2 separate regions of the Homo sapiens genome follow, and region 1 is linked to region 2. The links are contacts of gene promoters, found by promoter capture Hi-C in blood cells and fetal thymus (Javierre and others, 2016). All regions are on one chromosome and are shown on one strand. The core of a region is centred on a gene start or on the middle of the fragment in contact, and the rest is flanking DNA. Distances in the headings are between cores, read along the strand shown. Region 1 overlaps AADACL2-AS1 (AADACL2 antisense RNA 1). Region 2 holds the start of P2RY12 (purinergic receptor P2Y12).

The links. The method cuts DNA at HindIII sites, captures the fragments that hold promoters and counts their contacts. A CHiCAGO score of 5 or more calls a contact.
Region 1: a fragment that was not itself captured here is called in contact with the fragment with the promoter of P2RY12 in region 2 in 1 of 17 cell types (megakaryocytes); the score reaches 7.8 in megakaryocytes.

The regions. Positions count from the first base shown.
Region 1 is chr3:151,843,438-151,849,590 of GRCh38, reverse strand. The region is part of intron 1 of AADACL2-AS1 (AADACL2 antisense RNA 1); the gene reads left to right. Among named protein-coding and RNA genes, the nearest start is that of SUCNR1, 27 kb to the left of the region's middle. The HindIII fragment of the contact is 273 bases long and covers 4,366-4,638 here.
Region 2 is chr3:151,381,228-151,386,824 of GRCh38, reverse strand. It overlaps P2RY12 (purinergic receptor P2Y12), which reads left to right and starts at 2,072. Exons shown (of 3, transcript NM_022788.5): 1 at 2,072-2,133. It overlaps MED12L (mediator complex subunit 12L), which reads right to left. Exons shown (of 45, transcript NM_001393769.1): 33 at 4,080-4,169; 34 at 2,937-3,046; 35 at 2,607-2,742; 36 at 1,634-1,795. The HindIII fragment of the contact is 1,524 bases long and covers 1,363-2,886 here.

The DNA of each region.
Region 1 (6,153 bases), core at 3,253-5,752, 460 kb before region 2:
AGAACTCAGGATTAAGAAACTCACTCAAAACCACACAACTACATGGAAATGGAACAACCTGCTCCTGAATGAATCATGGGTAAATAATGAAATTTAGGCAGAAATTAAGAAGTTCTTTGAAACCAATGAGAACAAAGACACAACGTACCAGAATCTGTGGGACACAGCTAAAAGAGTGTTAAGAGGGAAATTTATAGCACTAAATACCCAGATCAGAAAGCTAGAAAATCTCAAGTCAACACCCTAACATCACAATTAAAAGAGCTAGAGAATCAAGGCAAACAAATCCAAAACCTAGCAGAAGACAAGAATTAACTAAGATCATAGCAGAACTGAAAGAGATACACACGCACAAAAAAAAAGTTCAAAAAAATCAATGAATCCGGGAACTGTTTTTATTGAAAACAAAAAACAAAATAGATAGACCACTAGCTAGACTAATAAAGAAGAAAAGAGAGAAGAATCAAATAGACACAGCAAAAAATAGTAAAGTGGATATCACCACTGACCCTACAGAAATACAAACTACCATCAAAGAACACTATAAACACTTCTATGCAAATAAACTAGAAAATTTAGAAAATGGATAGATTCCTGGACACATACACCCTCCCAAGACTAAACCAGGAAGAAGTTGAATCCATGAATAGACCAATAATAAGTTCTGAAATTGAGGCAGTAATTAGTAGCCTACCAACCAAAAAAAGCCCAGGACAAGACGGATTCACAGCTGAATTCTACTAGAGGTAAAAAGAATAGTTTCCTTCTGAAACTATTCCAAACAATTGAAAAGGACTCCTCTCTAACTCATTTTATGAGGCCTGCATCATCCTGATACCAAAACCTGGCAGAAACACAACAAAAAAATAAAACTTCAGTCCAATATACCTGATGAACATTGATATGAAAATCCTCAATAAAATACTGGCAAACCAAATCCAGCAGCACATCAAAAAGCTTATCCAACATGATCAAGTTGGCTTCATCCCTGGGATGCAAGGCTAGTTCAACATACACAAATCAACAAACATAATCCATCACTTAGAACCAATGACAAAAACCACATGATTATCTCAATAGATGCAGAAAAGGCCTTCAATAACATTCAACATCCCTTCATGTTAAAAACTCTCAATAAACTAGGTATGGATGGAACATATCTCAAAATGATAAGAGCTATTTATGACAAACCTACAGCCAATATCATACTAAATGGGCAAAGCTGGAAGCACTCCTTTTGAAAACCAGATCAAGACAAAGGAGGCCCTCTCTCACCACTCCTATTCCACACAATATTGGAAGTTCTAGCCAGGGCAATCAGGCCAGAGAAAGAAAGAAAGCATATTCAAATAGGAAGAGAGGAAGTCAAATTTTCTGTTTGCCGACATGATTCTATAGTTAGAAAACCTCATTGATTCAGCCCAAAAACTACTTAAGCTGATGAGCAGTTTAGGCAAAGTCTCAGGATACAGAATCAATGTGCATAAATCACAAGCATTCCTATACACCAACAATAGACAAGCAGAGAGCCAAATCGTAAATGAATTCCCTATCACAATTGCTACAAAGAGAATAAAATATCTAGGAATATAGCTAACAAAGGATGTGAAGGACCTCTTCAATGAGAACTACAAACTACTGCTCAAGGAAATAAGAGAGGACACAAACAAATGGAAAAACTTTCTATCCTCATGGATAGGAAGAATCAATATCATGAAAATGGCCATATTGCCCAAAGTAATTTATAGATTCAATGCTATTCCCATCAAGCTACCCTTAACATTCTTCACAGAATTAGAAAAAACTACTTTGAAATTTAAATGGAACCAAAAAAAAAAAAAAGAGCCTGTATAGCCCAGACAATCCTAAGCAAAAACAACAAAGCTGAAGGCCTCATGCTACCAGACTTCAAACTGTACTACAAGGCTACAGTAACCAAAACAACATGGTACTGCTACCGAAACAGACATATAGACCAATGGAACACAACAGAGACCTCAGAAATAACACCACACATCTACAACCGTCTGATCTTCGACAAACCTGACAAGAACAAGTAATGGGGAAAAGATTCCCTATTTAATACATGGTGCTGGGAAACATGGCTAGCCATATGCAGAAAACTGAAACTGGATCCCTTCTTTAGACCTTATACAAAACTTAACTCAAGATGGATTAAAGACTTAAATGTAAAACCCAAAACCATGAAAACCCTAGATGAAAACCTAGGCAATACCATTCAGGACATATGCATGGGCAAAGACTTCATGACAAAAAGCAATGGCAACAAAAGCCAAAATTGACAAATGGGATCTAGCTAAACTAAAGAACTTCTGCACAGCAAAATAAACTATCATCAGAGTGAATGACAACCTAAAGAACAGGAGAAAATTTTTGCAATCTACCCACCTGACAAAGGTCTAATATTCAGAATCTACAAAGAACTTAAACAAATTTACAGGAAAAAAAACAACCCCATCAAAAAGTAGGCAAAGGATGTGAATAGACACTTCTCAAAAGAAGACATTTATACAGCCAATAAACATAAAAAAAAGCTCAACATCACTCATCATTAGAGAAGTGCAAATCAAAACCACAATGAGATACTATCTCATGCCAGTCAGAATGGCGATTATTAAAAAGGTCAAGAAACAATAGATGCTGGTGATGCTGTGGAGAAATAGAGACGCTTTTACACTTGGTGGGGATGTAAATTAGTTCAACCATTGTTGAAGACAGTGGGGCGATTCCTCAAGGATCTAGAACCAGAAATACCATTTGACCCGGCGATCCCATTCCTGGGTATATACCCAAAGGATTATAAATCATTCTACTATAAAGACACATGCACATGAATGTTTACTGCGGCACTATTTACAATAACAAAGACATGGAACCAACCCAAATGCCCATCAATGATAGACTGGATAAAGAAAATGTGGTAATATACACCATGGAATACTATGCAGCCCTAAAAACGAATGAGTTCATGTCCTTTGCAGGGACAAGGATGAAGCTAGAAGCCATCATCCTCAGCAAACTAACACAGGAACAGAAAACCAAACACCACACGTTCTCACTCATAAGTGGGAGTCGAACAATGAGAACACATGGACACAGGGAAGGTAACAACACACACTTGGGCCAGTCAGGGGCTTGGGGGCGAAGGGAGGGAGAACGTTAGGACAAATAGCTAATGCACGTGGGGCTTAAAACCTAGATGATGGCTTGATAGGTGCAGCAAACCACTCTGGCACATGTATACCTATGTAACAAACCTGCATGTTCTGCACTTGTATCCCAGAAGTTAAAGTAAAAGAAAAAAGAAAAAAAGAAATATATCTTAAGGAATAGAATTCAGTATGTAATCTGACAAGAATTTTACTTGTAAAGTGAGATAAGAAAACATACATGATTATGTTAACATACTATTTGAAAAAACTAGAAAGTGAAATTTGGTTCTACCTGTGAATATGCAAAGAATACTTTGGATGATGTACTTATCTACCTCAAGAAACCCGAAGTTTTTGGAGGAAAATGTTCAAGAAATCTCAGTCACACTTAAGAGATCCTGCTAACCCACAGGGTGTGCTGAGCAAGTAAGCCCTTATTGTGCAGGATGTTTAGGGGTGGGCTCTCATGGTTTGACCTCTGAATTAAATAATCTGGTTTGGAAAAGTAAGCCTAGATATTAGATTTCTCTTTGGAAATTTCAAACGGGGTAACTGAGAAAATGAGGCATCATCAAGAGCAGAAGTCAAAGCATGTATCAAGATTTCTGTGAGGTAAAGGGTGTTGCTGTGTCATTTATTCCATTTTAAATCAGAAATCCAGAGCAAGGTAGAGGAATCACCCTCTAGGAGATAGGAGCTTGGGTCCCTGGTAGCTGTTACCTTCACTTTTCCATGAGCTGTGGCTCTAGGCAGTTTCTGCCTTTGGTTTTTCTATGAGCTGTTTTTCCATATTTTAGAAATTGCTCTCCCATATTCCTTCAAATCCCCACTAAACTGCTTTATTATTTAGATGATTAAACGTGTTTCTTTTACTTAAAAACAAGAGTCCCAACTAAACAGAAAGGACGAAAACTGATTAATCATTATTCACTTGAAGTGCTTAACACATAATAGCAGATTAAATATTGACTACAAAAATAAATAAATTATAAAATGGAACTTTAGTAATTGATTAAAATTCTAATGAGAAAATAATTCACCATTTCAGACATGCCTTTTAAAGCAATAAAAATACAGAGAATGATTAACTTTGATTTATATCTTACTCAGTAATAAATTATAGCTAAGTTAAAAAGATAAACATTTTAAAAGTATTTGTTAGATCTGCTTTTATAAAACAACTCTAAAAGCTTTAGTCTCTACATTGACTATAAGTTGCTATTATATGACATAGTTATGCTAGTTTTAATACTAACATAAAATTAAATAAATTAATTAAATAAATAAATTCTCTGAGGACCGATATAAATTTTATTAAATGGAATCAGGATAAAGCAATGACTTTCTCCATTCTTCCTTTGAGGGAGGGAGTACATTTCTATACAAAATACTGTCATATTTGTAAAAATTCTACACATTGGATTTTAAAATGTAAAGTTAATCTCCTAAATATATTTTCAAAGCTTGTTTTCATTAGAGATTCAATATACTGTTATGCAAAAAACAAGATATATATTCTCTTTAATATAATCAACATAATTGTTTGGGAAGTCTTTAATAGTGTTCGGTTCAAATATAGTCACTTCCTATTTATTTATTCATAAATGAATTCAGCAATTATTTAGTTTCTAATACAAAACATTATAATAGGTACTACAGGGAAATATGAAATAAAAAATAATTTTTTAAATAATTTTTTAAAAAAGGACAAAAATTGAGTGTTGCAACAATGAAATAAAGTTCTTATTGAGAAAGTAAAGAGAAAATGTTTTGGGGTTGAGCCTTAGAGAATGAAAAGAATTCTATTCAGACAAGTGGTGTTAACTGATGTGGTTTGGGCATAGTTGGTTCGGTTAAGTTTTATCATTTGTTTGTAGAAATTGAATTATATGTTGATCAATGGCAAACTTTGGAGGCAAACAAAATTGGATCTTAAATGCTCAATAATTAATACAACTGGGAAGAAAACAAGCAAACAAAATAAACATAACTGACCTCAGCCTAGTATTGGATGGAAGTAAACCTGAAAACAACAGCAAATTCCAAACTATATTTTTGTCAAATTTCATAGTTTTATTTATACCCAATAAGTTGCTCTTACTCTAATATAGTAGCCAGTGTACATTTAACAGCCTCTTAACTTGAAGGAAACATGGTGAGAGAATTGTATATCAGGAGAAAGGAATGATACGGACAGATGGAGAGCTGAGTCTGTGGATAATGAAACCTATTATGCCTCCAGCAGACTTCACTCCAACCTTGGGGAGGCCTGATGGGATATTCTGGGTTGTCTTGGAGCTTGACATAAAATTGATATTTTTCTGAAGTGCCTGGAAATGTACGAATCTAAAACATTATCAATCCTGACTTTTTTATTACCAAACTCGAATCTTGCATTTCCTTTTTACAATTACCTTTCAACCAATGTGAAATACATCAAGAAGAAACTCTTATTTGATTATTTCAAGTTTTTAGTATTCTGTAACACTTGCTGTTATCCTTTATAAAAGATATGTGAGGCCTTAGGCTCAGAGTTTTGATAGGCAAGAGTATTCAGATAGTATGTACTAGTATTTTATTTCTATTACATTCATGACAGGAGACACTACTTTCCTATTTATGATATAACATAAAGTTGGCTTCTTAAGAACAAATGTATTTAATTTTATAATAATTAATAGAAAACATTAAGAAAATTAATAGTATGGATGACACCTAGATATGGCAAAATCACAAGGCTAGTACACTAATTAGTAAAGTGTTGAGACACTGCTCTGAGGTGAGGGAGAATATCAGAGGGTGTGCTGTAGGTTTCACAGAATTCAGTCAGCCAGAAGTCGTGGCACAATTATGATAGAACCCTTCTCTCTGTATACCTTCAGCTCAGTTTATCTCTAAGTCAGTGTTAGGCAATTGTGAACATGATAGATAGTTTTAGGAAGGCAAAGCCAGCTGTTGCTTTTAATCTTGTGTACTATGA
Region 2 (5,597 bases), core at 823-3,322:
AGGCAGGTGGATCACGAGGTCAGGAGTTCAAGACCAGCCTGGCCAAGATGGTGAAACTCCGTCTCCACTAAAAATACAAAAATTAGCCAGGCATGATGGCAGGCACCTGTAATCTCAGCTACTCAGGAGGCTGAGGCAGAGAATTGCTTGAACCCGGGAGGTGGAGGTTGCAGTGAGCCGAGATCACGCCACTGCACTCCAGCCTGGGTGACAGAGCAAGACTCTGTCTTGAAAAAAAAAAAAAAACAAAGACAAAAACAAAAAAAAATTAGCTGGGCCTGGTGGTGCATGTCTGTAATCCCAGGTACTCAGGAGGCTGAGACAGGAGAATCGTTTGAACCCGAGAGACAGAGGTTGCAGTGAGCAAAGATCGCACTACTGCACTCCAGCCTGGGCGACAGAGCGAGATTCCATCTCAAAAAATATAAATAAACAAAGTAAAACAAAATAAAACCAAGGTTCAATTGCCACCTGTAAATTGACTGTTTCCTAATATTTGTCTTGAGATGAGAACTTTTTCCTTGGTGTAAAAACCACACATCCAAATGGATTCCAGATGTCTTACTACCAGGAAGTCCGCTGACACTGCAAACTCAAACTTGACCATGACTTTAGCTTTTTTTCTTTACACAAACTGGTATTAGATTCTCAGGCTACTCTAAATTCCCTGGTAAATCTGATTCTTTCATGTCTTCATATAAACTCTCCCTTTATTTGTACCACAATTTTCCCTACCTCCCAGCTAACTCTTAATCCTTCAAAATGACTCGTGTCAATTTTCCTGGGGACCCTCTATTCTATCCCCTAATACTCTCTCTGTACCATGTCACACAAATCTCATTACACTGTAATTGTCTGTCTACTTCCCCCTTGAGGGTAGGAACTCTGTCTTTCATCTTGGTGATTGTGGAATGTCGGTGGTTGCTTACTGTTCATTAAAAGAGTAACTGACCAATTTTCTCATATTTTAGAGAACCATCTTTAATATCTTATATAAAACAAATGTCCATTAAATACTGCTTGATAGGAATAGAGAATATCCTAACAATTAAAATAATTTTTATTTGAAATAGCTTACTACAGGAAGGTTTTTTTTTTTTTTTCCCCCCCCAGAGACAGGGTCTCACTTTGTTGCCCAGGCTAGGGTGTAGTGGCTATTCACAGGCATGAGCCTAGCACATTGCAGCCTTAAACTCCTGGCTTCAAGCAATCCTCCTGCCTCAGCCTCCCAAGTAGCTGGAACTAAAGACATGTGCCACCATGCTCAGCTTACAAGAAATTTTTCATTGATAAATATATTCTGCTTCTAAATCTGAAGTATAATCAGAACTTATTTATGCAATTTTTTTTTTACACTAAGCTTTTACTTAGTTTTCTCTTGGTAGGTTTCCAAAAATTTACTTAAATTCAGGGAAACATTTTAAGTCCTTTAAACATATAAAACGTAGATCTTCAAAGATATGACCTCTTTATATGATAATGCCAATGACTAAGTACACTTAGAAGACAAGCATATGCCTTAAAAACATCAACAGCAAAATTAATATATTTTATATATCCTATGGTAAGACAAAAAAAAGTATTTCATCTTTTGTAAATAAATTTATATATAAGAAAAAACATTCACTCTTGCCTGTTTTTTATCTATAGAGTCAAATCCAGCAATTTTGTTTCCTTTTGTGTCAATCAAGGAACCCATAGGTTCACAAGTGATGACATCACATGTCTGTTTCGGCAAAGGTAGTAACTGTCGAACTTTGTCAATACTTTCTGATCGCTTGTCTCCTAGCTCTTTCTAAAGAAAAAAGAGAGAGAGAGAGAGTGAGAAGTGGGACAGAAATTACAATGAAGGCAAAAGTTAACCAGAAGGAAGTTCCCCTATGAAACATTTCCCTTTTTATAGCTTAGCGCATGTTCTTTAACCCTGAACATGTTCTACAAGGCAGTTCCAAATAGAGCAATGAGTGTTTCATTTCTTCTATTTAAGTAGAAAATAGAACACATACAAAGGCACTGTTGTTACACAACAAACATCATAGTGCTGAAATGACAAAAATCCAGGGTAGTGATCACAATCAGAAGACAGGAGCTGCAGAACAGAACACTTTCTCATGTCCAGGGTCAGATTACAAGGTAACCATTGATTTATTTGATTGGTAATGCATCAGATTTATTTGGTTTCTTTTTTGCACTGTTTTCTTACAATTTTTTTTTAAAGGAGTCTGTTAGTGGTCGGTCAAATGAATCGATTTATAAATTTCAATGCAGATGGCTATTTTTTCAATTACACGTGCCAGTCCAAGCATAGAGTTATCCTAAATCTATCTAATGTTAGTATTCTGGTTATATATTTAACAGTGGATTTCTAAAGTTCTTTAAAAAATTAAACATGTTTTATAATGTAATTGTTTTCAATAAAAAATAATCAAGGTTATGTGCATGTAACTTCTGGGTACTAATAAGGTTAGGTGAAACAAATAGCAAATAATCACATTAAATTAAGTTGAATACAATTAATAACATTTAATGAGTAATAAATTAAAATGCACTAGATAATAAATCCATAAACAACTTGAGCTCATAATACAGGCTGATCTCAAACTTACTTTCAGTTTCTTTACTAAATTCATGTATGCACGCTTGTTCTCTTCAGATCCCCCAGGGGATGCATTTGATAGGTCAGAGGCTAACGTTCCATTGATTAAAACACCCAGCATGTCAAGAACTGTTGTGAATAATTCACTAAGAAAGAAAATAATTATTTTCATCTTAAAGTGAAACTGAAATACACTTATTTAACTGAGTATTTTTATTCAAGGCACAGAATTTTTAATAGCATCCAAGTAAATAAGATGTGGCAGAAATCGCCATCAGTATATCAAAGCTTATACCATGCATACATGTAGCAAAATCAATGTGAAGTGATAAAAACATACTTGTTAGTGTGCATGTCAACAGTTCCTGAAGTAATGATCTGAAGGAGTAGCAGGGCCCAGTCTGTAGTCCACTGGGTGCTCCTCTGCACCGTGTCAAACATTCCTCCTACCTAGCAGACAAAATACAGTAAGATATTTGCATTCTGTAAAACAGAAAGAACACCCCATTGCTTTATGTTATCAAATTTTGATTGTTTTTTATTTAAAAAAACAAGGGATGCTCTAGTTTATAGATTACCTTATCTTTTCTCTTTTACCTACATGTTTATCACTATTTTTAGTTCTTTCAGCACAGTTCAGTCATTCAAACATTAACTAAAATGAAGAAGGGACGTGAGTATCTGAATGTGGGCACCAATAAACTTAGCTTTCTTTTGTTCCAAATCTTTTATGATGTCCAGTTTTATGATGCAATTATAGTTGAATTAAACCTGAATAATGTCAAAGTCATGTAATCCAATTATCTGCATCTTTGTGTTTGCTGTACAATTACTATTGAATCTAAGCCTGCTATCATAATACCATATGGAAACATCCACTATCACAGCAGTGGTGGGCAGGAGGCTTGGCCCGCACACCTACCAGTTCACGTGTTGGGACAAGGTTAGAAACAACTGCAAAAGTATCAGGCAGGCCATCCTCCAGAGGGGCCTGCACTTGGGCCTGCCTGATGGGAAAAGAAAACTCAAGGAATGCACAATATGTGAGACATTTTAAATTTCTATAAAACTTCTCTGTGGGATTTGTCTTTATAATCAATTTGATGGAAAGTTGGACAAAACTTTGAGTTAAAAGACTTTTTAAATGGTTTTAAGTAAGTATAGTAGAAGCTAACACTTATAACAGTCTTCTCAGATTTATTCTTAGCACAAACTGAAGAGAAGGAGAGATTCACTGGGGTAGAGGTAGAGAAGGCAAATCTATGCTTAAAATACCTAGCACTGTCTAGATGTCTGACCAGACAGGAAGGAAAGCAGCAAGGGAAACAGAAGGCTTTAGAAACAGGGAAGTAATTACAGAGAGCAAAGAGTGGAAGGCCTCACCTTGTAATGCAGACTTTGCACTTAGGAGAAGTGGAAAGCTGGAGGTATTTTCACATGTAAATATGTTTAATGGAGGGAAAATACTAGAAATGTCACTTACCAAATTTAGGCGGAGTTGCAATGCTTCGTGCATCATCTGCCGCGCTTTTATGTCATCTTGGTATCGTTCTTCTCTCCAGTTACTTAAAATCTAAGATCCGGAAAAAAACTCCCCATTAAAGTTTAATTTTTCTCTCATTTAAAGATAAATTGAGCTTTATACTGATAGCAAAAAACCACTTCTTATCTTTAACAAATTAACAAACAAAGCTAAATAAAATTTTAGCTTTCTTCTTCCTCCATGCAGAAAGAAATCTGGCTATTTATTTGTGCATTTGCCGTTCTAGGTGGAGGAAGAAAATCTTATATAATTATATAGCTAGCCTATGATTAAGTCTGGGAAAATGCTTGAGAGGGCCATCAAATTAAGCATTAATAAAAACTTTTAAAATACATTACCTCATTGATCTTACGAAGAAAAACACTGGAGAGAGAGAATTACATTTTGCCTCAGTCCTGTTATATTTCTAGGGACTTGCTGAACCCTAGCAAATGTATTATTTTGATGTTTTATAGAAGAGAAGGTCTGCTATCTTATGTATGTGTCTTCCTTGATAAAGAGAACGCACGGTACTTTGAAAAATATGGCATTGCAGACATCAGCCAAGTGGCTTTATCAGTTTATAAAGTGGGCTGCTTCTTCACTTCCTCACTGACTCACACTAATGCTGGAAAAGGAAAAATTTGCTTAGGAAAGGGAGCCACAAGTGGGCAACACCCTAAAATCAGATGAGATGAGCAAAAAAAAAGTGCAATTCAAAACAAAAACAAAAAACCACTAACAAAAACCCTATCATGCTCTGAAATATGGTCATTAATGAGAGTCATCTTAAAAGAGTTCAAATGAGTCACATGCAGAAGTACTCCATCCCAACAGATGACCTGTAAGTACCCTGCAAGGTGAGAGGAAAGCACTTCCCAAATCTCATCAGAAGAAATGAACCCCTCCCTAAGGCTGGCTTAAGGGGGCAAGGTAGTTAACTAAACAACAAGCTCTCATGGAGCTCAAATAATAGTAGTGGGACAAATAAAACTAAGTGTAACAAGTGGTTTGAGGCATGGCAATGGCATACAGAATGGCTGTGGTCCTATTTTTAGAGGTGATCAAAGGCCTCCCGAAGGAGGTAACATCTTAACAGAGAACTGAATGAAGGGAGCAGGCCATGCTAATCTCTGGAAGGGAATCTTTCCACCTAAAGGGAAGAAAAGATGCACAGGCACTGAAATGAGAATTTGCTCAGCAAGTTCAAGAACAGTAACATGGCCAGTGCAACAACCATGGAGGAAAGAGGGCCATGACTGGTAGGAGACAAGGTAGGAGAGAGAGCCAGTGTCAAATCATGTCTGGCCTTATCAGCCCGAATTTTTTATACTAGGTATACTGAGGTAATATGTGACTTCCATTTAAAAAGGTTCACTATGATTGCTATATCTAGATCTCTCCTACCCAAAAGGTGAGAAATGACAAGAGGATCAAATAAGATTAAGTGTCCTTGTCCATGTCCATCTAGTACCATTC